Regions from separate parts of the Homo sapiens genome. Here regions 2, 3, 4, 5, 6 and 7 are each linked to region 1. Evidence: promoter capture Hi-C in 16 types of primary human blood cells and fetal thymus (Javierre and others, 2016). All regions are on one chromosome and are shown on one strand. Each heading gives the region's core, a stretch centred on a gene start or on the middle of the fragment in contact. The rest is flanking DNA. Distances are from core to core; before and after follow the strand shown. Region 1 holds the start of NCK2 (NCK adaptor protein 2). Region 2 has its middle 13 kb from the start of UXS1. Region 3 overlaps UXS1 (UDP-glucuronate decarboxylase 1). Region 4 overlaps TGFBRAP1 (transforming growth factor beta receptor associated protein 1). Region 5 overlaps UXS1 (UDP-glucuronate decarboxylase 1). Region 6 overlaps C2orf49 (chromosome 2 open reading frame 49). Region 7 has its middle 21 kb from the start of C2orf49.

Region 1 (4,023 bases), core at 738-3,237:
TACAGGTCTGGGGGTTAATCAATGAAGGTTTAGACAGGGAGTGTACAAAAAACAATCAACTCTCTCTTTAAAAAAAAAAGGTGCGTATCAGAATAAAAACAAAGGGCCACCATCTGCCTTGGGGATATCACTTTTACAGGGTGGGAAGACAACAACCTCTCTAGAGGAGGCAGATGGGCAGGTCAGAAAGGTAAGAGAATCAGAACTGGCTGTGTTTGATGAATGAAAAGATGATGGTGTTTCAGGAAATAGCAGAAATGCCACATATTTCAGAAAACTCCACAGGATAAAGATTGATAAAGGGCCACTGGATTTAGATAGAGAATGACATCGGTGACTTCTAAAGAATCAGAGAAAGAAGAGGCATGCAAGAACCACGATTCAGTGAAAGTTTACAAAGCAAACAAGCTACAAACTGGGTCAATATTGCTATACTTATTTTGAGTAAATTAATCTAAAATTGGGCAGACTGATGACTAGAATTCTTCTTTTCTTATTGTAAAGCTAGATATTAGTAACACAAAACTTGCACAAAAGGATGAACTGAAGTAGCTTCTTTCACAAGGTCAAAACAAGGAAAAATGAGGCTGTTCTGATTCCCTGAGCTTGTACCTGATTCCTGCTCAGTGTACTGTGCTTCCTTCCACTTACTGAGCTATTGAGGGCTACCTACTGCCAGGGTACTTCACATAGGAGGTAAGTAAATATTATCTCCCCATATGACAGATTTTAGAAAGGCTGAGGACCACCTGTGCAACGTTACACAGTTCAGGAAGTCAACAGTCAAACACTCACCTGTCTGACTTCAAAGCTACGCTGACTCTAGTTACCTATCCTTGGGTACTTCCCTTCTGGAAGGAAGCAGGAGATGAGTGAATCAAATAATACAGCCTTGTAACCTTGGGTAAATTATTATTGCCTTAATAGTAAGCAGAGACCAGGAGCCTAAGAAAGAATCTCATTAACATGGATGCAGGCTATCCTGCCAGGAAATCAGAATCATTTGAATATTAGGATTTCCTTTGGGAAACCATATGGGGAGGAGAAAAGACATCCGGATGCATGTGTCTGTGAAAGGGAAACTTGTGTCTTTCCCCTTGCTCTTGGGTTTTCATCTTCCAAGTTTGTTTATAGGCTAGCCACAACTCGAGGCTGGGTGAGCTGAACGGTCCCATCATTAGCGACACTCCTTCTAGGGGCACATTCGGGCAGCTCCTCTTCGGGTTCTGCCCCCACGGGTGTGCAACCAGGATTCCACAGGCTGGGGCTGGCCTGGATGCCTGGGAGGCAACAGAGGTCGAGTTTCTTCTTCTTTTAGGAAGTGCCTCGGACAGGGATGATGGACTAAAAATGTGTCTGGTTGGGAAAGTAAATAGATGCAAAGCAAATAAATAAAAATGCCCACAAGCAATTACAGGGAGGAAGTGACATTTTTATTTAAGTCACTTTTCTGATGGACAACAGGCCTGCTTAGCTGAGTGCCGTGGGAATGCTTCCGGGAGGGGGGCGGCTGCCCAGCAACTAGAGCTTCGTGATAAGAACAACGAACAAACAAAAAAGAGGACGCAAAGCCCACCCGGCAGTCATCCCAGGCTGGAAGTTGCCGTCTGTGTTTTCACTCTCCTCCCCACCCACCTACCCTGCCCCCCACCGCCCGCACGCAATTTCGGGCGTGGGGACCCTTTCCTGCCCCCGGCGCCCGGCCCGTGCTGCGCCTCCAGAGCGGAGCGTCCCGCAGCCCCGCGCTATCCCGGCGCCCGTACCGGGACCCGGGCGCGGAGCCTGGCGACGACGGGGGGCGCCCCAGGTGGGTCTCGGGTCCCCGCCCCGCGCGCCCGGGCCTGGGCCGGCCCCTGGGCGGCGTCACGGCGCGGCCGGGGAGGAGCGCGGGAGGAGGAGGAAGAGCGCGGAGGAGGCGGGCGCTGCGCGCCGGGGGAGGGTCGCCGCCGCCGCCGCCGCCGCCGCCGCCGCTGCCGCGGGGATCGTCAGGCCGGAGCCGCGCGGCCGAGCGGGCGGCGGGCGGAGGGGAGGGCTTGGCGGCCGGGAGGCTCGCGGCGCCCGGGCCGGCAGGGTCCGCCCGGGCCGGCAGCGTCCGCCCGGCGGCGGGAGGAGGGAGCGGCGCAGACAAAGAGCGGCGCCTGGGCGGGCGCAGCGCGGCCACCGCCCCGGGACCCGCGCCGCTGCCCTCCGGCTCCGCGGGCGGCCCACGGCGAGGTAAGCGCGGCTAGGCGGGCGTGGGGCGGGGGCCACAAACTTGGGGCCGTTGGGCGGAGTTGGGAGCGCGGCGGGGCTCGCGGGCCGGGGTGCGCCCGGGAAGGGGCCAGGAGAGCGGGTCCCCTCCGCGCCCCTCCGGTGCTCTCGGCCCTGCCGCGGCCTGGGCGCCCCCGACCGCGGACTGCCGGGCACCTCCCGGCTCTGCACCTTCCTGCCCGCCTTCCCATCCCTAACCCCCACCATCGGGGGCCGGCCCAGGGGCGGGGACGCCAGCCAAGGGCGCGGGCGAGGATCAGGGCAGGGGGCCCGGCTGCGGGGCCCGGGGACTGGAGACCCCCGGGTGCGCAGGCTGCGCCTGGCCTGCAGGCGGGCGGCCGGCACGGAGCTCGGGGCTAGCGTGGGACCGTGCGGTGGCCAGGGTCGCCAGGGCGCGTGTGCCGGGGAAGAATAGCCGCGGATCGCAGGGCCCCGGCGCAGGGACGGGGGAGGCCGCGATCGGCCGGGAGAACTTAACCGTGTTTATTACAACTATTTATGTTCGCGCACAAAGCTGCTGTCACATTGCATAAAGGAGGTCCTCGCTTCGGCGAAGGGAGCTTTTGTGCCCGGCTTCAGGCTCTGCGCCCTGCCCCAGATTTACAGGACTCTAACAGCCACCTGAATGAACCAAAGTTTCTCACAATCGCTCGGCTCTCTCGGTTTTTTTCAGGGCGATTTAATCACCGAGTGCTTTTGGAAAAATTTGATATGTGAGTTTTAAGGCATGGAGGGTAACTGCCTTATGAGCACAGTTAGCTTGGCATTGTGTGGAGGGGTTTAATTTGCAAAACGCTTTAATTTGTAGACAATGGGGATCTCTGTGAAGGTCTGCGGTGGATGCTAGGGGTCATTGGCTGGTGGACCCCAGGCACCTGACTTAAACTAGTATTGTAACAGCTTCAGGGACAAAGCCGAGCGTGCGTGGAGTCGGCCTTGGCCACTTCACACAATTCAGGTTGGCAGATTCCTCTTTATTTGGCTTTGTTTATTTTGCCAACAGGTTTAAGGCTGCTTCTGCCAAGTTTGCATCTGCATAATGGGATGAGCAGGCCCCAGTGTGGGCAGGAGGGGGCCTAAAATATCGCAAGGGCCAGCTCCGTCCCTCGACCCAGAAAGAAACAACCCTGAGAGGCCGGTGGGCGTGGCTTGCTGGGACCTACAGGTAGGGGAGTCCCTTCCTGGCCCAGGCGCAGTCCCCGCTTCTCGGAAGGGATTTTGTGTAGGAATGAAAGTGATTCAGGGTGTTTTTCATGCCTCTGTTTTAGATGTAGTTATCAAGTCTCAAAAGTGACTGAAAATGAAATTAACCTGGGCCGCTTTAACTTACCAAAACGGAACTGTGCGTGTGAACACTCCCTCAATTCACTTTGCAAGCTTCATAGATAAGCAGGTGAATTAGTAACAGGATTCAAGCCTTGCGAGTTTTACGTAAAGAGAATGGCAGTCATCGGACACGTGGAGAAGAAATTGACTTCACCTGGAGATTGGGCTAGACATGGAGGTTTTTTGACGTTTGGAACAGGGGTTTCCTGAGAAGCAAGTGTTAACCTGCTTGTGAAGAAGTGAACACGAGGGAAAATCCTACCTCAGTATATTCTGCCCTGGAGGTTGGTTAGATGTAGTTTTGATTGGAGAAGGTGGCGGAATCTTAGTGGTCTTCTGGCGGCTACTTGAGGCTGAAATGGAGAACTTTAGGCATAGGAAGCTGTGGAGGTGCCTGGCCCACTTCCTGTCCCGGAGGCCTCGCCTGGATTCTGAGCTTCTTTCCTG
Region 2 (4,023 bases), core at 1,037-3,536, 460 kb after region 1:
TGATAGGGAAATGAGTCACTCAGTTAACCATGTCAGTGGCTGCAGGGGTCTTAGGTGTGTGGTGACCACAGGTGACAGGGATGTGTGACAGCAGGTGCTGAAGGTCGGGTATGGAGGTAGGGTTTCACCAGGTGCTCAGCCTGTCAGGCCAGGCAGCTTCCACGTACGCTACTTTGTCTCTATCCTCATCTGTTTTCTTTCACAGCACTTACAACTGCCTGAACATTGTTTGTTTACTTAAATCTAGTTTATCAACCACTAGAACACGTCTTCCTGACCACAGTTTTGTGTCTTTATTACTACTCCATCTCCAATATTGAGAACAGTGCTGGGACCTCAATGACTATTTTTTTGAATAAATAAATGGATTAAATTTTTTACTAAGTGACAATACTGTTTTAAGCACTAAGCTAGGGTTTGAGACCATAGTAATAAAAATATAGCCATTTTCTTTTCCAAATAGAACCTAGATTGTTCCAATGGATCTTAATTTTATTGCATTAATTATGAGAATAAATTCCACAACCCACTGTGGAAACATTTAAATCTTCACTGCTGCTGAGACTCAGGGGCTTGGTGTCAGGGGTTTTCCTTCCTGCTCCAGGGAAGGGCCCTCAATGTCCTTGGTGTTCAAGGTGCTCTTCCCCGGGTGCCCTTCCATGCTCGCCTTGTCTTGTTGGGAGCCTGCCTTAGATCTGAAGATCACGCACAGTTCTCACACAGAATTCAAAATCCATGCAACTTTGCCCAGAGAGCATCAGCTCTGCAAGTCATTCATGATTTCCCAGTTGAAACAAGGAGCAGTGCTGTGGAGGGAAGGAAGGATTTCCCCAGAGCCCAAATCCAGGTGAGCTGCAGACAGATAGGCTCAGTGCAGGAGGTGACTGGTCAGTGAGGGACAGAACTTTGATAATGTCGAATGCAGATGACCTTGAATGAATAATATTTTTAGAAAACTATGAGAAGCCATTGGGAGAAAAATTCCATATATAATGTTATTATTTCTCATATATGTACCAGTTTCATTCACATATATTCATGTCTTCTTAGAGGTAAATTTTCACATTGTGACCTTTGCCCTGGTCCTTTCCCTTTGATGATTTTCCTTTTCATGACCTCTCCAATATTACATCTTTATTTTTTCTCTTCATTCTTGAAAATACTTTAAAATTTTTAATTTCCCCAAATGTCTTCCTAGTCACTGGTGTATTCCTCCATTTCACGTCTCTCCCATGTGAGAGCCAGTATTTGAAACCTACCCACGTGAGCCTTGTATCCTTTTCAGTGTGTTCATTCTCCTAATGCCAGTCTAGCAATTTAATTTTTTCAATTATTTTAGGCAGGCAGGGTGGCCTTTAAAAACAAGAAATGGTATCCATACACTTTCTCTGGAGGAAGGAGTCCCTCTACCTGCTTGTCAATGATAAGCTTCATGGGGGTGAACCCTGTTCCTCCAGATTAGAGACCTGGGGATGGGCTGAGTTAGGAACACACCACAGTCACATGGCTTTAATTAGAGCTGGGAGTGTGTCCCTTCATATGGTTTTGGATATTTGAATTTAGGAAAGAAATTAACCTGAGCTCAAAATTATAACCTGAATTCTTTATAAAAGGACAATTGCATAGACATGGCTGATACCTCATCTTTGAAAAATAATGAAGCCTTGAAAATACATCAGATAGTTATACCGTTGAGATGCTACAAAAGAGAAAATATCTGTGCAAGCAAGAGAGTCTGTGTGTAACTAACATACATTTGCATATAGCAATATGGAAGTGATTTTGACTGGAGACTATCACGAAATGATCATTCCAGAATCTATCTGTAGAGAAATTAATGAAAGTATGAGGGTAATCAGTCCTTCAGCAGCCTGTCACCTTCCCAACAACAGAGAACTCACACTGGAGAGGAGCCCTTGAATACAGTGAGTGTGGGAAAATCTCCATCCCAGCTCCACATTGACTCAGCATGTGATAGCCCACATGGAAAAACCCCATGCCTGTAATCAATGTGGAAAGATTCTCAGTGACTGCTAGTCCTTTCGTTGACATAAATCAACTCACATTGGAGTTAAACCTTATAAATGTCATCTATGCAGGAAAGTCTTTAATCATTGATCTTACATTAGACAACAGGAGCCCACTCACACTGGAGAGAAATTATATGAATGTCATCTATGTAGAAAAGTCTTTAGTACATACTCTGGCCTTAGACAACACAAGAAGATCCACACTGGAGATAAACCATCTAAATGGAATTACTGTGAGAAACACTTTGGTCAGAACACCAAATTTATTCACACCATGGAACTCACACAGAAGAGAAACCTTATAAATGCAATAAATTTGGGAGGCATCTCAGACAAAGTGTAACCTTTATTCACACCAAAGAACTTGCATGACAGAGAAACTCTGTAAATATAGTAAATGTGGGAAAGAATTCCACCTGAGCATTCAGCTTTATTCACACCACATAATTCACACTGCAGAGAAATCCTGTAAGTGTAATGACGGTGGAAGAGCCATCAGTTATCCTTTATCCCTCAGTCAACACAAGCAAATTCACACTGGAGAGAAATGATATGAATGTCATTTATGTGGAAGAGTGTGGTCAAATTTCTGGTTAGTAAACATAAGAGAATTTGCACTAAAGAAATAAAGTAACTGTGACCAGGATTTTAGATCACAGTGAAGTGGCCTTGTTGTCTGGGGGGAGGTTCTTGGTCTCATGGCCACGGAGATTAAGGACCCGGACACACACAAGGGTGAGGTCTAGAGCAGAACTGTAATAGGTGAAAGAAAGAGGATAGCTCTCTCCTACAGAGAGGGGTCCCAGGAAAATGGGTTGCCAATCTCTGGTGAAATGCAGGGGGTTTTTATAGATGAGCTAATGGGAAGATGGTGTCTGATCTACATAGGGCATGAAAATCTGGTTAGGACCAATTGTGCCATTTGCACAGGGCATGAATCTCTGGCAGCCCCCACCCCAATCTTTTATTATGCAGGTGGGTAGCTACTCCATGTTGCTTATTTCTTTCGGACTGTATACATGGTAACAAAAAAAGGGAAGGTGGAGCCCCATGGTGGACATGCCTGGCCCCAGGTAGCCCTTTTCTGTGGGTGTAGCTATAGGCCTCCCCCAGTGCAAGCTTCCAGCTTCCTTATCAATGCTTGCAGCTCAATCTTTCAGGCTTCTCTTTGTTAAAAAAGGAATGATTTCTTGGGCTGCTTTTTGTTAGAAGGGAAGTTCTGTCAAGGACTCTTTTGCCCTCACTATCTGCCTAAATAATTTCTTTCTATCTCCTGTATCAAGAGCTCTCACTTGATTTACACACACACCAAAAATAAGAATTATAGGGGAGAAAAATCATATGAATGTCAGATATGTGGGAAAGCCTTCAGTCAATTCTCTGACTATGGACAACCTGGGAGAACCTACATTAGAAATGTAATAAATGCATAAGAGCCTTCAGCAGTAGCTGTAAACTTTATAAACACCAGAGAACTTACATGGAGGAGAAACTTTATGCCTGTCATCAATGTGGAAATGCCTTCATATCTAACTTATCCTTCAAACAACAGGAGTGAACTGTACTGTAGATAAGCCCTTGGTCTGTAATCAGCTTTAACAAGCATTCGGCAGAGGTCCAGCTCCAGTGTGCACAAGAAAACCCAGAGGAGGAATAGCCTCTTAACAAGAAATTCGGGGCAACCCCCTTTGGGTCCATTTTATGGGAGCTCTGTTTTCACTCTATTAAATCTTGCAAGTGCACACTCTTCTGGTCCGTGTTTGTTATGGCTCGAGCTGAGCTTTCACTTGCCATCCACCACTGCTGTTTGCTGCCATCGCAGACCTGCTACTGACTTCCACCCCTCCGGATCCAGCAGGGTGTCCGTTGCAATCCTGATCCAGTGAGGTGCCCATTGCTGCTCCTGATCAGGCTAAAGGCTCGCCATTGTTCCTGCATGGCTAAGTGCCCGGGTTCATCCTAATCGAGCTGAACACTAGTTGCTGGGTTCCAC
Region 3 (4,023 bases), core at 551-3,050, 440 kb after region 1:
AGGGCACTTTCTAAAAGTTAAGAAGAAGATGGGAACAAAGTATACAACTTAAGGATTAATGCAAAAGGCAAAGGAGAAATTTTTTTAAAAGATGGATTATGACTTCAGGGCTCATTTTATTGCTTACTGTTAAGAAGTTTTGTTAGTAATATATTTGATACTTGATCTTGATGTAGAATGAATGCGAAAGAGAAATTTGATGGAAATACACTTCACAAAAGAAAGAAATTACAAAACTTTGCTGAGGGCCAAAAGAAAGGTCTATCTAAAGTATGGGTGTCCAATCTTTTGGAATCCCTGGGCCACAGTGGAAAAATAATTGTCTTGGGCCACATATAACGCTAACAATAGCTGAAGAGCAAAAAAAGCAAAACAAAACTCATAATGTTTTAAGAAAGTTTATGAATTTGTCCTGGGCCACATGCAGCCCGCGGGCAGTGGCTTGAACAAGTTTGGTAAAGAAAAGCTAGGCGCTATTTCTGGATGGGAAGGCAATTTAATATGCAGAAATTATGAGGTCTGGGATTTTTCTCTTCTTTGCACTTCATTCTCTAGCTTTTCCACATTGAGCACCTTGTTTTCTCATTTCTCCTGTATTTTGTAATTTTCAAATGGGAGCTTAAAAAATTTTAATAATGGTTTTAAGCTAGCCTTTTCATTTTGTGTTCAAAAAGGGCAGAGAGGGAAAGAAGGTGAGAGAGGGATCTAGGAGGACCATCTCCAAACCACAGCACCCACGGGCATGATCCTCAGCCACCACAGCTGTGCCCCAACCCAGAGGGCTGTCAGTGCTCTGGGCTCATTCTCCATGCCTCAGTTTCCCCACCTATGAAATGGAGAGAACATCTCCCCTCTTCACGCCTCACTGCAGGATAGTTGGGTGCTGCTTCTCCTGCCCAAAATGAGGGCTGCATTTCAGCATCTACACTGGTGGGTGGGGGTGGGGTGGGAACGCAGGCAAGGTGAAGCCTAAGGAGGGCAGAGAGCGCTTCCGTTGGGATAGTGGGGTCCTCTCATTGAATTAAGAACCTAGGATAGAAATTCTGTTTTTTAAATAATTAGGATGCACTGGGGTAAGGGAGCAGGGAATCAGAATTAAATTCCACAGAACAGCAAAAGAAACCAAAAGAAAAAAAGAAAAAGATCCTGATTTGGCAATGTATGAGTTTTGCTGAGAAGCCCTGTTTACGAGGATCCATTATTCACAGCTAATGGCCATTTCCACCAGAGCCATCACTAGCCCCTTTGATGAGTGTCAGAATAACTTGGTTCTTTCCCTTGGTTACAACCAAGCCATCCTACACCACCAATGTTCTGTTGCTGATAAAACCCAGCTGCCTGCTCAAGTCTTTTTTAAAAAAAAAAAAAAAAAAAAGCAAGGTCACCCCCAGTATATATGTCAACCAAATTCTAACTTAGAACCAGCAGGCTTTGCTTTCAATTTCTAAAAATACTATAAAAATATTCAAAGATACTAAGAATAACATTCCAAGATCTCACCACCCTAACAAAATTGTTTTCCTTTTCTAGCACATCCAGACTCCCTCTGAAAAAGACTGCTTTGAAGTTCAAACGTTTTCTGCTGTTGCTTTACTTCACTTATTTATTTTGGTTACAGCAACTCTAAAAAGCTTAACCAAAAAGAAACTGATGGATTAACTCCAAATTCACTCTTGGCCCTTCTAAATGCAGGGCGATGAGGAAACCCTCAGCCCCCCTCAGAGGAGAAGTTCCCACTTGCTGGCCGTCACTGCCCTTCCTGCCTGGAAGGAGTCCCTCCATGTTGCAGGTTACTTTACAACACACACCCACACCTTTTTTCCCTTGAAGCTCATCAAGTGAAGTTATCAGCTCTTTAGAGAAATCCCTTCAATTCCTCACAGTATTTAAAACAAATTATTTTTACCTGCAAGGCAAAGGAGTATTTTCATTTTACAAATGGAAAAAAAAAATTGAAACAGAAGGTTAGAAAGCTTGCACCACGTGATAGGGTGAGACCGCTTTATTCAGAAAAGGGATGATCTGGCCAGGCACTGTGGCTCATGCCTCTAATCCCAGCACTTTGGGAGGCCGAGGTGGGTGGATCACCTGAGGTCGGGAGTTCGAGACCAGCCTGGCCAACATGGTAAAACCTCATCTCTACTAAAAATACAAAAATTAGCCGGGCGTGGTGGCGCACGCTTGTGATCCCAGCTACTCAGGAGGCTGAGGCAGGAGAAACGCTGGAACCTGGGAGGCAGAAGTCACAGTGAGGCAAAATCGCACCACTGCATTCCAGCCTGGGCAACAGAGCAAAACTCCATCTCAGAAAAAAATAAAAGTATAAAAAGAAAAAGAAAAGGGCTGACCCTGAATTAATCCTCCCCACATTTACCCTTCAGGTAATTCCTAGGACTTGTCATATTTGTAAGACAAAAAGCAAGACAAGAAATTTGCAGTAGACATTAATGTGGGTTCAGTACACATGAAGAATCTGGTAACTGGCCTCACCTATTCAACATATCTATTTGTGAAAGCTCTCCAACTTCACATCAGACATGTTCTTGACTTCTCAGCTGTCTTAGTCCATGTTCAGGCTGCTATCACAAATATACTACACAGTGGGTGGCTAATAAACAGGAATTTGTTTCTCACAGTTATGAAGGTTGGGAAGTGCAAGATCAAGACACTGGCGGTGAGGGCTCACTTCCTATTCACAGACGGTGCCTTCTTGCTGTATCCTCACATGGTGGAAGGGAGGAATGAACTCCCTTGGGCCTCTGTTACAAAGACACTATCCCATGCATGAGGGCTCTGCCTCCTGACCTAATCACCTCCCAAATACCCCACCTCTTAATGCCATCACTTCAAGGATTAGGTTCCAACATGTGAATTCCAGGGGACACAAACATTCAGATCACAGCACTGGCCTGTACAGAAGTACCATACATATCATATACCAGGACTAGAATCCAGTCACATATCTACAAAAGGTAGGCAGCTCAGGAGACATGCACACCACAAAGCACATTTCAGGCCACACGGGCCAACCCCAAAATGCAAAACTGATTATACTTTGCCCTGCCCTAATGTCTGAACACTTCAGGCATGTTCATCAAAATCTCTCTCATGCTGCACAAATTCTTATGGAGGGCTTACTCATGTCATTAAATCAAGTTTATGTCAGGTCAGACTTCCACATTCTGCCTTTATGGGCCACAAAGACTCCTGCTCCTGGCATTGTGTCACTCCAGCCTCTGCTCATTCCATCACTTTCACCTTCAACTCCACTGCCCAAATTGTATCCTTCTGCTAAATGCCAACTCAATGCCCCAGGTCTTAAGGGCATCCCATTCTCTCCAAGTCCCAGATCTCATTTCTCTCATGGTACTCAGCACTTTACCTTGACTACTTTACCTTGTCCATTTTCTTAGGAACTATGGTGGAAAATGGGAAAATTGTTGAAAATAAAGATGCCCAAGTCTTAAACCCTGTTTCTACCTACAGAACACTTCTGATACCACGTGTGTGTGCTTTTCCCATACTACCAACCAATTCTCCCACTCTCTAGACACCAAGCAAGTGGCCAATGATTCCATTCAATTCTGGCTCCTTGGAGAGAAGGCTGATTCCAGGTTTGGGGTAGAAAAAGAAAATGAGCCTGAAACATCTAGACATTAAGGAAGTGCTCAAAGACTAAAAGAAGCTACGGGTCCACAGTGATTAAAGAAAGATCACCATGAGTTTAACGGTGCCCCCTAAAATATGTCCACATTCCAATTCCTAGAATTTGTGATTGTTATCTTACTTGGAAAAAAGGTCTTTTTAGCTGTAATTAAAGATCTCAAGACAAAAAGATCATCCCGGATTATCCAGTTGGGCTCTAAATCTAGTGACAAATGTTCTTATAAGAAACACCCAGGAGAGATTTAGCAGACAGAAAAGGAGGAGGCCATGTCACCGCAGAGGCTGGAGCAGTGCAGGCAAAAGACAAGAAACCCTGGAGCCACAGAGGAGCATTCCGAGGGAGCTCAGCCCTGCCAA
Region 4 (4,023 bases), core at 399-2,898, 430 kb before region 1:
GAGGAAAAAAAAAATGCCATTCCAATACAAACTCTTACAGGTATAGGGAGTGTGTGTGTGTGTGTGTGTGTGTGTGTGTGTGTGTGTGTGTGCGCGCGCGCGCGCGCGCACGCGCACATAACTCAAAAAGCAGATTCTAAAATTCACATGGCAGACTGGGAGCAGTGGCTCATGCCTGTAATCCTGTAATCCCAGCACTTTGGGAGGCCGAGGCAAGTGGATCACCTGAAGTCAGGAGTTCGAGACCAGCCTGGACAACATGGTGAAACCCGTCTCTACTAAAAATACAAAAATTAGCTGGGCGTGGCTGTGCACACCTGTAGTCCCAGCTTCTCAGAAGGCTGATGCAGGAGAATCGTTTGAACCTGGGAGGCGGAGGTTGCAGTGAGCTGAGATTATGCCACTGCACTCCAGCCTGGGTGACAGAGTGAGACTCTGTCTCAAAAAAAAAAAAAAATTCACATGGCAGAAAGGGCCAGAAAAAGTTAGACACTTATGAAAAAAGGTCAGGAGACTTGACTCAACATATACAATATAATCAAAAACCGTGGTAATTAAGATAATGTTGGACTAGCACGAGGACAGACCTAGAGAACACAACTGGGTGCCCAGAAACAGGCCATGCATATGTGGAAACTTGAAACCTGACTAGGTTGGCACTGTACATGTGGGGCATATACCGTGTATACACATGTACAGTAAACAGTACTTGTATGTCCATAGGAATACAAGTACAGTATTTGTATGTACTAGATGTCCATAGAAAATATAAGAAAGCTAGATTCTGCCAGGTATAGTGGCTCACGCCTGTAATCCCAGCACTCTGGGAGGCCGAGGTGGGAGGATCACGAGGTCAAAAGATGGAGATCATCCTGCCCAACATGGTGAAACCCCATTTACACTAAAAATACAAAAATTAGCTGGGCATGGTGGCGGATGCCTGTAGTCCCAGCTACTCGGGAGGCTAAGGCAGGAGAATTGCTTGAACCTGAGAGGCGGAGATTGCAGTGAGCCAAGATCGTGCCACTGCACTCCAGCCTGGCGACAGAGTGAGACTCATCTCAAAAAAAAAAAAAAAGAAAGCTAGATTCCTACCTCACACCACACATCAAAATTATTCCAGGTGATTAATATTCTTAAGTATAAAAGACATAACTTTGAAACACTGGAAAAAAAGCATGAAAAAATATTCTCATGACCTTCTTAGGGTAAGGGAGAAGTTCTAAAATAAGATATAAAAAAGCACAAACCCTAAGGAAAAATGATAAATTCTCCCATGTGAAAATGTACTGTTTCTGTTCTTCAAAAGACACCATGAAGAAAGTGAAAAGATAAGGGGAAAAGGGGGCTAGGGAGAAGACACTGACATCATGTATCTGACTAGAAACATCTGGATGATGTGGGAACTCCTGCAGCAAGAAAGTCAAGGATCTAACAGAAGGATGGGCGAAATACACAAACAGACCTTTCAATGGAGAGGAAACATGAATATCCAATAAACACGAAAGAACACAACCTGATTAGCACCTGGAATTTGCAAATTACACCTATAATGATACTTCATTTTCTACCCATTAAATTGACAAATATTTGAAGTCTGACAACATGAGGTGTTCCTAAGAACACAGCACAATGAGGAGGCTCCACCATGCCAGGGGAAGGTTCGGAGCTGGTAAGGACAGGTTATCATTACCTAGGAAGCCCCTGCCATGACTGAGTAAGCCATGACTCTACTCCTAGGCATCTGCCTTACTGAGTCTGTTTTGTGCTTACCAGGGCAAAGAAAGTCCACAGCAATCCTGTTTGAGACACAGGAAAACTAGAAACACCTCATGTTTCCTCCAAAGGCTGAAATACTGTACAGCTGCAAGAGAATGAACTAGAGCCGCCCACAAGGATGAATCTTAAGAGAATCTTAAGGGAATGATGAACACAAATCCGGGGAGGATGGGACTGGGTATGGGTGTGCATGAGATTCCCAACGGTCAGTAATGTTTTATTTCTGAAGCTGAGGGTTGCTTTTATTATGACTCTCTATATCTTATACAGATTACAAATATATTTTTATAGGCATTAAATATTAATTAAAAATATACACGTACATGTAGAATGTATAAAATTCTACTCATTTCCCCAAACCAGCTTACCCTGGAAATAGAGAAAGAATCTGTTTAATAAACCTGGTAGAATTCACAAACTGTATGTTCCTTGTTAAAAATTTCATTGCATGGAAGCACATTTATCAAACAAATAAGTGATTTATAATTTCTTAGTTTATCTAAATGCAGTGCTTAGCTTATTTTATATCCATATTTAATGGCCATTTCTCAGGATATCAAAGTCCAATTTGGGGCATTCCATCCATCATTTCCCATAAACATACCCTAGAAGGTAAAGGGAAAGACCAGCATGTGGTAGATGGCTCAGGGGGCGAACACCCTGCCCCATGGGCGTGTATACCGTCTGGGGCAGCAGCTTCTGTGAGGCTAGCCCCTTACCTCATGGGCCTCTGTCCCTCTCCCTTCCACTTCCAGGGCCACATAAGTATCTCCACTCTCAGTTTCAACCAGTTCAAAACTGGTTTTACTATCTTACTCTTCTTTCCATTTCCTCTATACTAAAACTCACCAAGGACAGGCCTCATTAAAAAAAAGTCACAGCAGGAAGAATAAACGTGGAATGAGAGCCTTTTTTTGTGTGTGTGTGTGAGACAGAGTCTCACTCCATCACATAGGCTGGAGTGCAGTGGTGTAATCTTGGCTCACTGCAACATCTGCCTCCTAGGTTCAAGCGATTCTCGTGCCTCAGCCTCCTGAGTACCTGGGATTACAGGCGTGCATCATTTTGCCCAGCTAATTTTTGCATTTTTAGTAGAGACGGGAATCTCACCATGTTGGTCAGGCTGGTCTCAAACTCCTGACCTCAAGTGATCTGCCTGCTTCAGCCTCCCAAAGTGTTGCAATTACAGGCGTGAGCCACTGCGCCTGGCCAAGAGCAATATTTTAAGTAGATAATCTAGACATAAAAAGAGGCTTGTAGGCCAGGCGCAGTGGCTCACGCCTGTAATCCCAGCACTTTGGGAGACTGAGGTGGGTAGATCACCTGAGGTCAGGAGTTTGAGACCAGCCTGGCAAACATGGTGAAACCCCATTTCTACTAAAAATACAAAAATTAGTTGGGTGTGGTGGCAGGTGCCTGTAATCCCAGCTACTTGGGAGGCTGAGGCAGGAGAATCACTTGAACCCAGGAGGCGGAGGTTGCAGTGAGCTGAGATCATGCCACTGCACTCCAGCCTGGGCAACAAGAGCAAAACTCTCTCAAAAAAAAAAAAAAGGAAAGAAAAAAAAAGAGGCTTGTAACTCCAACATTAACTATATAAATATTAGCATAATACATATATAAGATTTTAATATATATGTTTAACATATATAGGTATATATGTGTTTAATGCATATATACATATATGTATGTGTGTATATATTTGTTATATAGTGAAATATATATTTGTTATATATTGAAATATATATATTTGTTATATACATACATACATACATGTTATATACACACATACATACACACACACACACAATAGGAAACTCCTAATCTGGTACAGAGATAAATATATTCTGCCAAAAAGAATGCTATGACAAACTGGCATTTATTAAAATGGGCTCTTTACCAGTAATTATTCTTGAATCAAAGAATGACACTTTGTTATCTGCTCTACCAAATAATGTCCACCTGAGAGCCAACTTTAAGCTTGGCCTGGTGTCCTACGTGTCTGCAAAAAACCCTCACATTTTCTAATTACTTCACAGCTTATAAATGAAACAGACTCTTCAGAAACCTATGCAGCTATATGTGCACCAGAACTTCATCACCCTGGGGGAGGAACCGCAAAAACTCAGCCCTATAATAGAAGGCACTGTCCTATGAATAAGCTAAAAATTAATTCTGTATCTGCATTTTAAAAAGGACACACTACCTCAAGTAAGATTTGTTATTTTCTCATTTTACAGCAAG
Region 5 (4,023 bases), core at 597-3,096, 400 kb after region 1:
CAGACTTCCTTGTCATAACTTAGATTCCTTTCTGCTGACTCCAAAGTTTTACACAAAGATTTACTCCTTTAACCAATTACAAAGTAAAAAATCTCTAAAGCCAGGGAGGTCAAGGCTGCAGTGAGTGGCAATTGTGCCACTGCACTCCAGCCTGTGTGACAGAGAGAGACCCTGTCTCAAAATAAATAAAATAAAATACAGAATCTCTTAACCCGCCTATACCTGTGAGCCCCCACTTCAAAATAGCCTGTCTTTTTGGGCCAAACCAATGTAAAAGCCCTATATATTGATTTATACCTCCTTGTAACTTCTGCCTCTCTAAAATGTATAAAACTAAACTAATCCGCCTGCCTCGGGCACACTTACTCAAGGCTTCTTGGTTTTGTGTTTCCTGGGGCTGCAGTTACTCATACTGGATCATAATACACCTCTAAAATATTTTAGAGTTTGGTTTTTCAGTTAACAAGGCCAACCTCAAGAATAACCATCCCTTAACCACCACATAGATATTACATATGCTCTGATGAAATGCAAATCAAATGGTTAAGACAGGATGGGTGAGACCAGGCATCCTCATGCTCGATAGCTTTCATTTGGCTTTACCAACAGCACCATTTTCCAAATCCCCTTTGCCTTCAAGATAAGAAACTGACACCCAGAGAAGTTACGTCTTTGACTAAAATCCTCAGAGATCACTAGCTGGGACACACTAAAGCTACAGTCTTTCTAATTACACGCTCTCTACTGCCTGTCAATTTGTCTGGTTCGTGTTTCATCTTAAGAGCTCCCACATTCTACTGCTATACCTGAACAATGACTATGAAAAACGATTTTCCAGAAAAATAATTGAAATTCAAAGTTGACTCACCACTAGAGCTTAACTCACGGGATGAGATTTCATTTTATCTTCACGTTATTGCATTTTTTCCAAGTTTTCCATGATTTTTACATTTAAAAACTTGCAACTTTTAAAAAGAAATGTAACCCCTTTTAACATAACTGTTTCTCTATATGCAAATATTTCTGAAAACAAAATGTTCAGTGGCACTCTAACATTATCTCTGCACCCAAAATACCTGGCAGACAGTTCTGAGATATCAGAGATGCAGCGTATTAAATTACACATGATCATCTCCAACATCTCACTAGTCTTAGTACTGACGTAAAATTGTTGGAAGCACCTTAGCTTGACTAAAATGCACTGGAATTTTTTTTTCTGAAGTAATTTCCTTCTACCTAAAATACTTAAGATTTATATAATATAGCTGGATGGTTATGCAATTTTTTATCCTAATCAATGTTAGCCCATTAGGCAAGTGTTTCAAATAGAAACAAATTTGGTGAAAGCTTAGCACTTACAAAGCTCTATCAGGAACACTAATCACCAAACCCAAGGATATTCTTTGAATAACAAGGAGCTAATACCCAAAAGAGAACAGGAGAAAAGAAGTAAGACCTCTTACACTGAGATGGATTAGAACTTACACGGCTTTGCATGGCTTTCCAGTATAGGGGTTTGTCTCAGTGTGCTTTCTTGCTCGCTCTTGTGGGTGCCAATAGGCAGCTAAAGTGGTCTAGTTCAAGGTCAGCAGTCAAACTCATGATGCTTAGCAAATTAGCAAAAAATCAAAAAATGTATTTCAAAGCAAGTCTCCTCTTTCTGTTGAAGCTGTCCTAAGGCTTACCAATTTACTGAAAAGGCTTTAAGTTATAGCAACAATATACCAGACTCACATGCCAAATGCCTCAGAAATGTGCTTAACCTATGAGATGGCAGATGAGGGGAAAAAAAAAACTAAGTCTGTTTGCTGTGGTGATGTGTAAAGCAAAATAAATTCTATAATACTCAGCATCGACAGGAAGATCATTCCATGTGCACATAATAAAATTCATGGCAAGATTTTGCAGCATTCCTGTAACAGTGCTGCTGTGCTTTTAACGTGTCCACCAAAAGCACATTTTGGTAATTTAATCCCCAGTGCAACAGTGTTAAAAGGTGGGGTGATTAGGCCATGAGGTGAAGTAAATGGATTAATGCCATTATCAGAGGAGTGAGTGTGTTATCGTGGAAGTGTGTTCCACATAGAAGCACGAGTTCAGTCCCTTTGGTCTCTCTCTTGCTCTCTCTTTACCCATCCACTACGTGATGACATAGCAAGAAGACCCTCACCAGGTCACAACCCCTTGATCTTGGACTCCCCAGCCTCCAGAACCATGAGCCAATAAATTTGTTATAAATTACCCAGTCTTAGGTACTCTGTCATAGCAGCACAAAAAGGACTAGGACAGAAAATGGGTACCAGAGAAGTGGGATGATGCTTATACAAACACCTGAAAATGTGGAAAAAGCTTTGGAACTAGGTAATGAGTAGAGGCTGGAAGAATCTGGAGGTGCATGCTAGAAAAAGCCTAGACTTCTGTGAATGGAGTGTTAAAGAAACAGTGGTGAGGCCTCAGAAGAGAAGAGCTGTGGGGGAAGTCTAGAACTTCTTAGAGATTACCTGTAACATGGTTGTGATCAGAACAATTGTGGAAATATGGACAGTAAAGGCCATTCTGATGAGGTCTCAGATGGAAATGAGGAACATACCACTGGAAACTGGAGTGAAGGCTATCCTTGTTACAAAGTGGCAAAGAACTTGGCTGAAATGTGTCTGTGTCCTCTGGCTTTATGAAGGCAAAATTTACAAGCCATGAGCTAGGACATCTGGTGGAAGAAATTTCTAAGCAAAATATTAAAAGAATTGCATGGCTTCTTTTAACTACATAGAGTAAAACAAGGGAAGAGAAAAATGATTTAAAGACAGATTGTATAACTAAAAGGGAAACAGAACAAAAAAAATTTTTTAAGTCCCCAGCCTTACCATATAAAGAATGAAAAAGTGTGCAAGAGTGCAGACAATTGACCCTTTGATACACAGAGTAGTATGGTTAGAAGGAAGCCAGGTTCTGTCCCTTAAGACAATGGGAGAATGACCCTGAAGGCATTTCAGAAATCCTCCAGGCAAGCTGAGACCTTGAGGCCAACGTTTCCAGAGAGGTGCTCGAGGTCACCATTCATTGCCCTGTGCTGCCACAAGTCTCTGCTCCCCTTAGCATTCCTCAGCCAGCACAGCTGTGGCTCCGGCCAGTCCAGGTGCAGCTCAAGCTACCGCTCCGGAAGATATAGGCTGTAAACCTTGGTGGTGTCCACGTGGTGCTCTAATTCTGCAAGTGTGCAGAATGCAAGAGCCATGAGAACATGGCTTCTTCCAACTAGATTTCAAAGGATGTCACAAATAGCCCGGGACAGGGTGGGAGGTGGCGGGGGGTAGGCAGAGACTCATTGCGGTGATACAGCTGCCACAAAGACTCCGGAACTGTAAAGCTACCAGCATGTAACACCAGCCTAAGGAAGTTACAGGCACAGAACTCCAACTCGCGAGAGCAGCCAGGTGGACTGAGACCAACAAAGCCACAAGGCTGGGGCTCCCAGAGGCCTTGGAGGTCCAACCCCCACCCCAGCGTACCCAGGACTCAGGCCATGGAGTCAAGAAAGATTATCTGGAGCATTACGATTTGATCTTGTTTGCCCTGTTGGGTTTTGGACTTACTTGGGACCAGTTACCCTGTTCTTTCCTATTTCTCTCTTTTGGAATGGGAATGTTTATCCCACGCCTGTTCCACCATTGTATTTTACAAGTAGATAACTTGTTTTGATTTCACAGGCCCATAGCTGAAGGGGAATTTGCCTTAGGATGAATCGTGTCTTGAATTTTTCCCAAATGATGTTTAGATGAGACTTTGGACTTTCGAGTTGGTGCTGGAACAAGTTAAAATGCTGGGCTATTGGGATGAAATAAATACATTTTGCATGTAAGAAGGACATAAATTCTAGAGACGGCAGCCAGAATGCTATGGGTTTGAATGTGTACCCCCAAAATCATGTGCTGGAAACTTAATTCCCAATGCAACAGTATTGGGAGGTGAGGCCTAATGAGAAGTTATTGGGCTATGAGGGCCCCACCCTCATGAATGAATTTA
Region 6 (4,023 bases), core at 449-2,948, 410 kb before region 1:
CTTATCTATCTGAGTCCCGATGGCTTGTAAAGAGGAGTCCCAGGCGACACCCCCTGCCTGTGTGTAAGCCCCGACCTGAGGAAGAAAGAAGCGTGGAATAGACATGGAATGTAGAAATCATGGACTGTCAGGACTGGAAAGCATCTGAGAAACCGTCCATTCCACACCTTCTAATCGTTTAAAGATGATAAAAACAGTTCCAGAGAGATGAAGTGACTTGTTTAAGGTCACAACATCTGTAAATGGTACTTCCGGGAGGAGAATTCAGGGCTCCTGGCTCTCCATGTAGTGCGTGCTCTTTTCCAGCTGGTGTGGCCTCTGATAATAGGAGAAAAGTGAGAAAGGAAAAAAGTGATGTTTTAAGTGATAGAGAATTACTGGAAGTTTCCTTGGGGTTTATGTAGCGTATTTTGTTGTTTTTCATATGGCTTTCCCCTTAGTACCCTATCTTTGTTGAATTTCAGGTCCTCTTGCCACGTAGAGCTTAATTATGTCAGTAAGTTTTTACCTGTGGTTCTCAAACTTTTTAGGTACTTAAGAATGAGTCGAGGGACTTGCTAAAACACAGATTGTTGGGCTCCGTCCTCAGTTTCTCGTTCAGTAGTTCCGGAATGTGGCCCGAAATCTTGCATTTTTAACGAGCTTGTTGCTGGCCCAGAAAGCATGCTTTGACCACCACTGTCCTAAGGCAATACTTTCCAAAGTAATGGGCTTATGAATTCTCTGGGAACGTTGTCCAAGAGAATCCTGGTAGTTTCCCCTACTTCTGAGCGAGTACGGGCTAAAAATAGATGAGTCTAATATACGAAAGAGAAGTAAAATGTGCTTTTATTAGTTTTTGTTAGAGGATATAGGCTTGTCGGTGGTACTAAACACAAATGTTTTCAAGCCTTTCTGAGTTGAAATTGAAGAGCCTGTGATCTCATTTCCATTCTCATTTCTCCTTCTTAAATCCAAACTCTGTCTTCATGACTACTCCTGTGCTTATGCTATGTTTTTCATGATGTCAAGAACAAATTGGAAAATGAGGAAGAATTTGGTGATTTAGATAGAGATGGTTGGACAATGACTGGAAGCTTACTTGAAAGGACCAGTGAAAATGGGGTGCAGGCTTTTCTAATGATGTACTGCTACTGTCGTCAGTACGGGAATAACAGTTTCTATTTGTGGTATTATTTGAAATCTTGGTAGTTAACTTCAATTTAGGAAGCACCAGATTAGAGAAGCACGAGAAATATAAGACAGACTGAGACCTTCATCCCACTAATCTGATCATGATAGTAACACTCAAGGTAGCTTATTGACAGAATGTGGTGATTGTTAATCATTGTTAGCTTTCTTTTGTCAACAGGCAGTCTCCCATTTTCAATCCCCTTTGTATATTAAGATAATTTTACTGGAAATGATCTTTCATGCTTGGTGTGTTGGCTGAGCAGTTGTGGACAGCAATCCCTGTCACACTGAGAAAATATGACCATTGTTTTTAAGATGAGGCTGAACCTAGTATCTACAGAATTTAACCTTTAACACTGTCTCTAAGTGCGCGTGTTATTGTGAAAATGGCTTTTTATAATTTGTTATTTAAGCAGTAATGTTTTACCATGTTAGGTAAGGTGGTTACTTGTTAAAATTAAAAACATTGTTTTGAAATTACTTTTGTTTCCTTTCCCGCAGAAGAACATAGCTGTTGAAACTGATGTAAGAGTAAACAAAGACAGTCTTACTGACCTTTATGTCCAACATGCAATACCATTGCCTCAGAGGGATTTGCCGAAGAATAGATGGGGGAAAATGATGGAAAAGAAAAGAGAACAACATGAGATTAAAAATGAGACTAAAAGGTACTTTTTGGTGGTTCTAGCTTTCAATTTATCTTATATAACTAAAGTTATATATAAGTTATTGATTTTTCCTGAGATAAACTTAAGTAAAAAATTTATTTACTCAATGACTATCTATTGAGCACCAGGCACTGTGCGTATAGCAGTGAATAAAACTGACAAAATTCCCTGCTCATATTTTTGATGGGAGAAACATAACAACAGTTAAAATATGGTATTGTTATATAGTAATAAAGGCCAGGGAGAAAGATTACAATTTTTGGTAAATTATCCAGGAAGATCTTAGTGAAAAATGACATTTTAGTAGAGAGACCTGTAGGAAGAAGAAAACAAGCTAGGATTCCAGGCAGAATACAAGAGGCTGGATCTGGAATGTGCCCATCATATACCAGGAACAACAAAGCAGCTATCAGGGCTGGATGGAGAAGTAGGAAGAACGAGTTGTACTGGGGGCAAACGGGAGAGATTGTCAGATCATGTAAAGCTTTGTAAGTCATTGTAAGGACTTTGGCTGTACTCAGATGAGAAGCCACTAGAAGGTTTTAAGCAGAGTGGTGACATCATTAGATGTACATTTTGACAAGATGACTCTGGCTGCTGTCCTAAGAAGTGATTTAAGGTGTGTGGGGAGGGGAAGCGGTGTGTATAAGACTGGAAGCAGGGAAACAAATTAGAAGCCTGTACTGTAATCCAGGCAATAGATGGCAGCAGCTTTGACTACAATAGTAAATTTGGTGGGTTGGAGCATGCATGTATTTTGAAGATAGAGCCAATAGGATTTCCTGAATTTTGAGGAAAAAGTCAAGTCAGGTAAAACTCTAAGGTCTTTGAATAATACACAAATGAAGGGCCTGTTAACTAGCTTAAGTTATGCTATTTAAAATTATTTAATTTCAAAAACAGTTTTATAAAACCACAAGCAAGTGATTTTTTCTTTTTTAAAGAAAATTACATTTGATTAATCAGTGTTGTTGATTGGTTAATAAGTACAAAGTGTCCTAAGATCCTTAAGTGAACTCTTCTGTGTCTATTATATCTCAAGTGGATACTATTGATCAATTAATTTTTTTTTAGGGCCTTCTATTTGTAAGGCACCGTCATAGGCAATCCACTAGAAGCAGTGAGAGAAGACAGAGTAGGAGGGTAGGGGTAAAGGGGAGTATGTTCCTCTGAGTTTTAATCTCTGTTTTACAAAGAAAAATTTAATGATTGAGATTATTCTCCAATTATGAAGAATAGTCGAAGAATACATGTCTGCTCATTGTCTTTTGGAAAATACACACACAGTCTGACCTTTGATCAAGAATGCATTTTAGATTGACCATTTTAGCTTGATGGTTACTTTACTTACTAGTACAGACTATGTAGTGGTGTTAACTTTCATAAATATGGGTTACACTGCATATGGCTTTTAATTTACTTTTGCTGTTATTCAGCCAGTATTTTCCTCTTGATCAGCACATTCAGGCATATTGTTCTAGTAAGCAAAACTTTATGTGCCAGTCATACTTTCCTTTGAAGCAATCTTTGTACAACTGTCTTGATTAGTCCCCCAAAATCATTTTGGAAAGGATCTTTGACTCTATTTTTTAAATACACAATTGAATCAGAGCATTAAAACTGGAAGGATCCAAGAGATCATCTTGTATTGTTGAACTACTTATTATTTTATCTGTGGAGGAACTGAGATCCTGAGAAGTGCTGTAACATGCCCAAGGTCACACAGAGCTAGGACCAGGTCCATAGCAACATAGCCCTGTGCTTCTCAAACTTTAATGTGCTTCTTGAATCTTAGATTAAGCAAGCTGTCAAACCCTGCTCTCAGTCCCTGTTTCCCTTCTACAAAGGCAGTGGGTATACAGTGAGCTTACTTCTCATTTTCTACCAAATGATGTTCAGTGATGACCCAAGAATTGTTGAGTTTGGCCAACTGCTAGAAATCTGGTTAAAAGGTGAGTTCTGATGTATTCAGGTTGATGCCCCAGATTCTCCATTTCTTACAAGCTCCTAAGATACTGACTGACGTTGCTGTGCTGGTGCTGCTGGTCCCTGGATCACACTTTGAGTGGCAGGGCTAAAATGTTCTTCCTGATAACTGGCTATCTCAGATTCTTTTAACATGTTTAATTAAAAGGGTTTTTTTTTGGGCCAAGAGCAGTGGCTCACGCCTGTAATCCCAGCA
Region 7 (4,023 bases), core at 955-3,454, 390 kb before region 1:
ATTGGTTTAGTTTTGCCTGTTGACATTTGCTTTGTGTACTTTTGTATATGTATGTTTAATTTCCCAATTTAATAAAAAGTCTTAATTATATAGCTATATTATTTTACATCTAGCCAGAGTTTTCTCATTATCTTTGGCATTCAGCATTTTGAATGTAATGTGTCTGGGTATGGTCTCTGCATTTATCTTACTTTGAGTTTATTGAGCTTCTTGAATATGTAGATTAATATTTTTCATCAAATTTGGGGCCTTTTTCAACCATTAACTCTTTTTTTCTTTTTCTTTTTTAAGAAGGTCTCACTATGTTGTACAGGCTGGAGTGCAGTGGCTGTTCACAGGTGCTGTTTTCTCACACTGCAGCCTCAAACTCCTAGACTCAAGCAATTCTCTCACCTCAGCCTCCTGAGTAGCTGGGACAACAGGCGCATGCCACTGCACCTGACTAGTCATGAACTCTGAAAAAATATTTTCTCCTGTTCTTTTTTTCTCTCTCCTAGCCTTCTAGTCCTTCCATTACACATATGTTGGTATGCTTAATGGTTTCTCACATTTCTCTGAGGCTCTTTTAATTTCTCTTCACTCTTTTTTCTGTTTTTCAGATTGTATAATTTCTGTTGTTCCGTCTTCAAGTTCACTGGTTTTCTTCTCCTAACTCAAATCTACTACTGAGCCCCTCTAGTGAATTTTTCATTTCATTTAGTATACTTTTCAACTTCAGAATTCCATTTGATTTATTAAAAATAATTTTTATCTCTTTATTGGTTTGTTTGGTGAGTAAAGTCATCTCTTGGTATCTGTGGGGGATTAATTCCAGGACCCCCTACAAATACCAAACTCCATGGATGCTCAAGTCTCATATAAAATGGCATAGAATTTGCATATAACCTATTCACATCATTCTGTATACTTTAAATAAATCTCTAGATTACTTATAATAATACCTAATACAATGCTTACACATCACTTCATTTGCATGGATTCAACATAGTACTCAGCATGTGGAAGATCCAAGTTTTGCTTTTTGGAACTGTGTCAACTTTTTTTTTTTTTTCCTAAATACTTTTGATCCACAGTTGGTTGAATCCACAGATGAGGAATCCATGGATATGGAGGAACAACTGTAATTGTTCCTTTACCTTCCTTTTTTAAATATGATTTCCTTTAGTTCTTTGAACAAACACATTTATGTGTTCAGCCAGTGTTTGGTCAGAGGTTCTGCTTAAGCACTTTGAGCTAATAAGATTTCTGCTCTTTGCTGATGGATCTGTGTATGCCTTAGAGAATGCTTTCAAGTTTGTTTCACATCTGATTGCTCCTGAGTGGATACAGCCCTGTCCATACATACTTCCCGAACCTCAAGGATAAACCAGATTCCAGGAGGGCTCTTCTTGGCTATCTCTTTCTCTGGTTTTCTGTGTTAAACTTCTGGCTGGTCTGTCATTTTGCTTTTTGCTACTAATAGCATGGAGTTACCAGCCCCTTCCTTAATGGCTCACTGGTAAGATGTCTTATTGTTTTTGACAATCCCCTTAGGCAAAGATTTCTCGTTCTCCGTACCAAATACCAGTCCCCTTGGGCATAACTGCTGGGTTACCAGTCTCAGAGCCTGGATCTCCTCTGGGGGCTGGACAGCAGCCTGCTTCTCCAGGACTGACATCCCTTCTCTGTGAGTGGGTTGATAGCCGCTGGTCTTCTCAGATTGCCCCTCCCAATGTGGAGCCTCCGCACTAAGCAGGCTAGGGTAGGGGCAATTGGAGCTCTACGATTCTCAGCCTGTCGCACCTGGGGCAAAGCCCTAGACTGGTAGCTGGAGGAAGAGAGACCCCTTAATTTTTGGCTGCATTGGTCCAGAATAGAGTTTGTCACATGAAGCTGGGGAGTGGGGATGGGATAGGATGAGGCTGTGGCTCAAATGCCACAGACTCACTGTTCTTTCTAAGACTTAGTAGTGGATTTTCCTGAATGAATGTTTATTTGTTGTATGCTTCTGGGGAAATTTTCAGAGACTTTGTGTTGTGTGGTTTATATACAAGTAATTTCCTTCAGTAGGAAGAGGGTCGGTCAGCTAAGCCCTGCAAACCACTATCTGTAAAGTCCTGTCAGTCAATGCTTTTAGCCTTGGCTGGGCTGCTTGGAGTCTGGCCTAAGTATACACGGTTCAGTTGTCAGCCAGAAATTTCTAAGTTCATGCGACGAACTTGGGGCTCTCCTTTTCAGGATTTTCTTCCTCACTTTCCAGAGGCTGTTTGTCCCGAACTCTGGCCTCTGGTTCCTCAGGCCAGTAAGACTGCAGGTTTCCTAACAGAGTTTTAGATCCCTGGCGGGGGCCTGCCATTGGATAAAAGGCCGAAACAGGAAAATCACCCAGTGTCGTTCTCTTCTTCCAAGTGTCTACTGCCCTCCAATATCTGCCTGCTTTGGATCGTGCTCCAGTGTTCTTAACAATTAAATAAATATTTTGTCCAGAATGACTGTTAATTTGGAGGAGAATTAGTCCAATTGGAGCTATTTACTAGAAGTGGAATTCCCCCTAACCATTAATTTTAGAATGGGTAATTTAAGGTTGGGAGAGTCTATGGTTTTAATGAGGAACAAGTAAGATGTTCCAAAATGAAATTTGGAGTGCTTTTACTTTTATATTATGAAGTAGAAAACAGCAAAACAACTAACAAAGGATGAAATTATTCTTTTTAAGCAAAACCTCAAGTCAACTATAAAACCAAAAGACTCATTCCAGACATTATCAAACATTCTAACAGTGACTAACACTCAGATTAAGAAACTGATTTCACATATGCTCAGCATATATCAGACTTGATTTCCACCAAATTTTTCTGTTGCTCAGCCTATCATTTTATTATATTGCATTGTCTTAGAAAACTAAGGACAAAAAGGTCACTGATGCTCCCATTCTAAAGAGAACTGTGCAATGTTCTATCCCATACATTGGCTCCGTGCTTCCCAACTGTATACTGCTATCTGAGATTATTCCACAGACTACTGCCACACTAGTAGCTCAGAATGTTATTTTTACTGTAATGACTGTGTGTCTCTCCTGCTTTACTGCCCTTTTCAGAAACACTGAAGGCTCCCAGTGTGCCCTCAGTTGCGAGGGTGTTGAGAACATAAAGATGAACAGGATGTCGTCTCTGGCCTCAAGTTGCTTATGTCCTTGTGCAATCTTTCACTTTATGGAAGTCGGTGTAAGATGTGGATCCATAACACTGGGACAGAGCCGATAAGCTCTGCCAAGAAAAATGACCTGAAAATTGGCTTCACTGTCAGTTTATGTTACTGTGTCAAATGCAGAGGATTACATTCCAAGAGAAAGAGTATGGGAAAGACAGAGAAGGTAGCTGGGTGCGGTGGCTCATGCCTATAATCCCAGCACTTTGGGGGACCGAGGCAGGTGGATCACCTGAGGTCAGGAGTTCAAGACCAGCCTAACATGGTGAAACCCCATCTCTACTAAAAATACAAAAATTAGCCGGGCATAATGGTGGGTGCCTGTAATCCCAGCTACTCAGGAGGCTGAGGGCAGGAGAATCGCTTGAACGCGGGAAGTGGAGGTTGCAGTGAGCTGAGATTGTGCCATTGCACTTTAGCCTGGGCGACAGAGCGAGACTCTGTCTCAAAAAAAAAAAAAAAAAAGGGAGAGAAGGTAGCAAGGAAGAGGTGCCTGGTGCTGACTGAAGGCTTTTTTTTTTTGAGACGGAGTCTCTTTGTCTTCCAGGCTGGAGTTCAGTGGTGCCATCTCAGCTCACTGCAAGCTCTGCCTCCCGGGTTCATGCCATTCTCCTGCCTCAGCCTCCCGAGTAGCTGGGACTACAGGCGCTCACCACCACACCCGGCTAATTTTTTGTATTTTTCGTAGAGACGGGGTTTCACCATGTTAGCCAGGATGGTCTTGATCTCCTGACCTCATGATCCACCCGCCTTGGCCTCCCAAAGTGCTGGGATTACAGGCGTGAGCCACCGTGCCCAGCCGAAGGCTTCCTTTAAAGGGTGTGATGCTGTTCCAGT

The links. The method cuts DNA at HindIII sites, captures the fragments that hold promoters and counts their contacts. A CHiCAGO score of 5 or more calls a contact.
Region 2: a contact is called between a fragment that was not itself captured here and the fragment with the promoter of NCK2 in region 1, in 1 of 17 cell types (naive CD8 T cells). The highest score is 5.4, in naive CD8 T cells.
Region 3: a fragment that was not itself captured here is called in contact with the fragment with the promoter of NCK2 in region 1 in 1 of 17 cell types (activated CD4 T cells); the score reaches 7.7 in activated CD4 T cells.
Region 4: a contact is called between a fragment that was not itself captured here and the fragment with the promoter of NCK2 in region 1, in 1 of 17 cell types (neutrophils). The highest score is 5.3, in neutrophils.
Region 5: a fragment that was not itself captured here is called in contact with the fragment with the promoter of NCK2 in region 1 in 4 of 17 cell types (activated CD4 T cells, total B cells, naive CD8 T cells and 1 more); the score reaches 10.6 in activated CD4 T cells.
Region 6: a fragment that was not itself captured here is called in contact with the fragment with the promoter of NCK2 in region 1 in 11 of 17 cell types (fetal thymus, naive CD4 T cells, activated CD4 T cells and 8 more); the score reaches 20.3 in fetal thymus.
Region 7: a contact is called between a fragment that was not itself captured here and the fragment with the promoter of NCK2 in region 1, in 2 of 17 cell types (fetal thymus and naive CD4 T cells). The highest score is 6.6, in fetal thymus.

The regions. Positions count from the first base shown.
Region 1 is chr2:105,742,925-105,746,947 of GRCh38, forward strand. It overlaps NCK2 (NCK adaptor protein 2), which reads left to right and starts at 1,988. Exons shown (of 5, transcript NM_003581.5): 1 at 1,988-2,214. RefSeq lists silencers at 1,639-1,958, 2,149-2,208, 2,319-2,708 and enhancers at 3,079-3,148, 3,249-3,298. The HindIII fragment of the contact is 4,864 bases long and covers 1-3,625 here.
Region 2 is chr2:106,205,507-106,209,529 of GRCh38, forward strand. No RefSeq gene overlaps it. Among named protein-coding and RNA genes, the nearest start is that of UXS1, 13 kb to the left of the region's middle. The HindIII fragment of the contact is 1,721 bases long and covers 1,427-3,147 here.
Region 3 is chr2:106,181,886-106,185,908 of GRCh38, forward strand. The region is part of intron 1 of UXS1 (UDP-glucuronate decarboxylase 1); the gene reads right to left. Among named protein-coding and RNA genes, the nearest start is that of UXS1, 10 kb to the right of the region's middle. The HindIII fragment of the contact is 342 bases long and covers 1,630-1,971 here.
Region 4 is chr2:105,316,372-105,320,394 of GRCh38, forward strand. The region is part of intron 1 of TGFBRAP1 (transforming growth factor beta receptor associated protein 1); the gene reads right to left. Among named protein-coding and RNA genes, the nearest start is that of TGFBRAP1, 11 kb to the right of the region's middle. The HindIII fragment of the contact is 4,217 bases long and covers 1-3,757 here.
Region 5 is chr2:106,147,405-106,151,427 of GRCh38, forward strand. All of the region lies in intron 5 of UXS1 (UDP-glucuronate decarboxylase 1), which reads right to left. Among named protein-coding and RNA genes, the nearest start is that of UXS1, 45 kb to the right of the region's middle. The HindIII fragment of the contact is 1,002 bases long and covers 1,346-2,347 here.
Region 6 is chr2:105,337,909-105,341,931 of GRCh38, forward strand. C2orf49 (chromosome 2 open reading frame 49) reads left to right here. Exons shown (of 4, transcript NM_024093.3): 2 at 1,675-1,841. Among named protein-coding and RNA genes, the nearest start is that of C2orf49, 2.4 kb to the left of the region's middle. The HindIII fragment of the contact is 1,249 bases long and covers 1,075-2,323 here.
Region 7 is chr2:105,356,669-105,360,691 of GRCh38, forward strand. It overlaps a transcript of C2orf49 not described here and a transcript of FHL2 not described here. Among named protein-coding and RNA genes, the nearest start is that of C2orf49, 21 kb to the left of the region's middle. The HindIII fragment of the contact is 6,495 bases long and covers 1-4,023 here.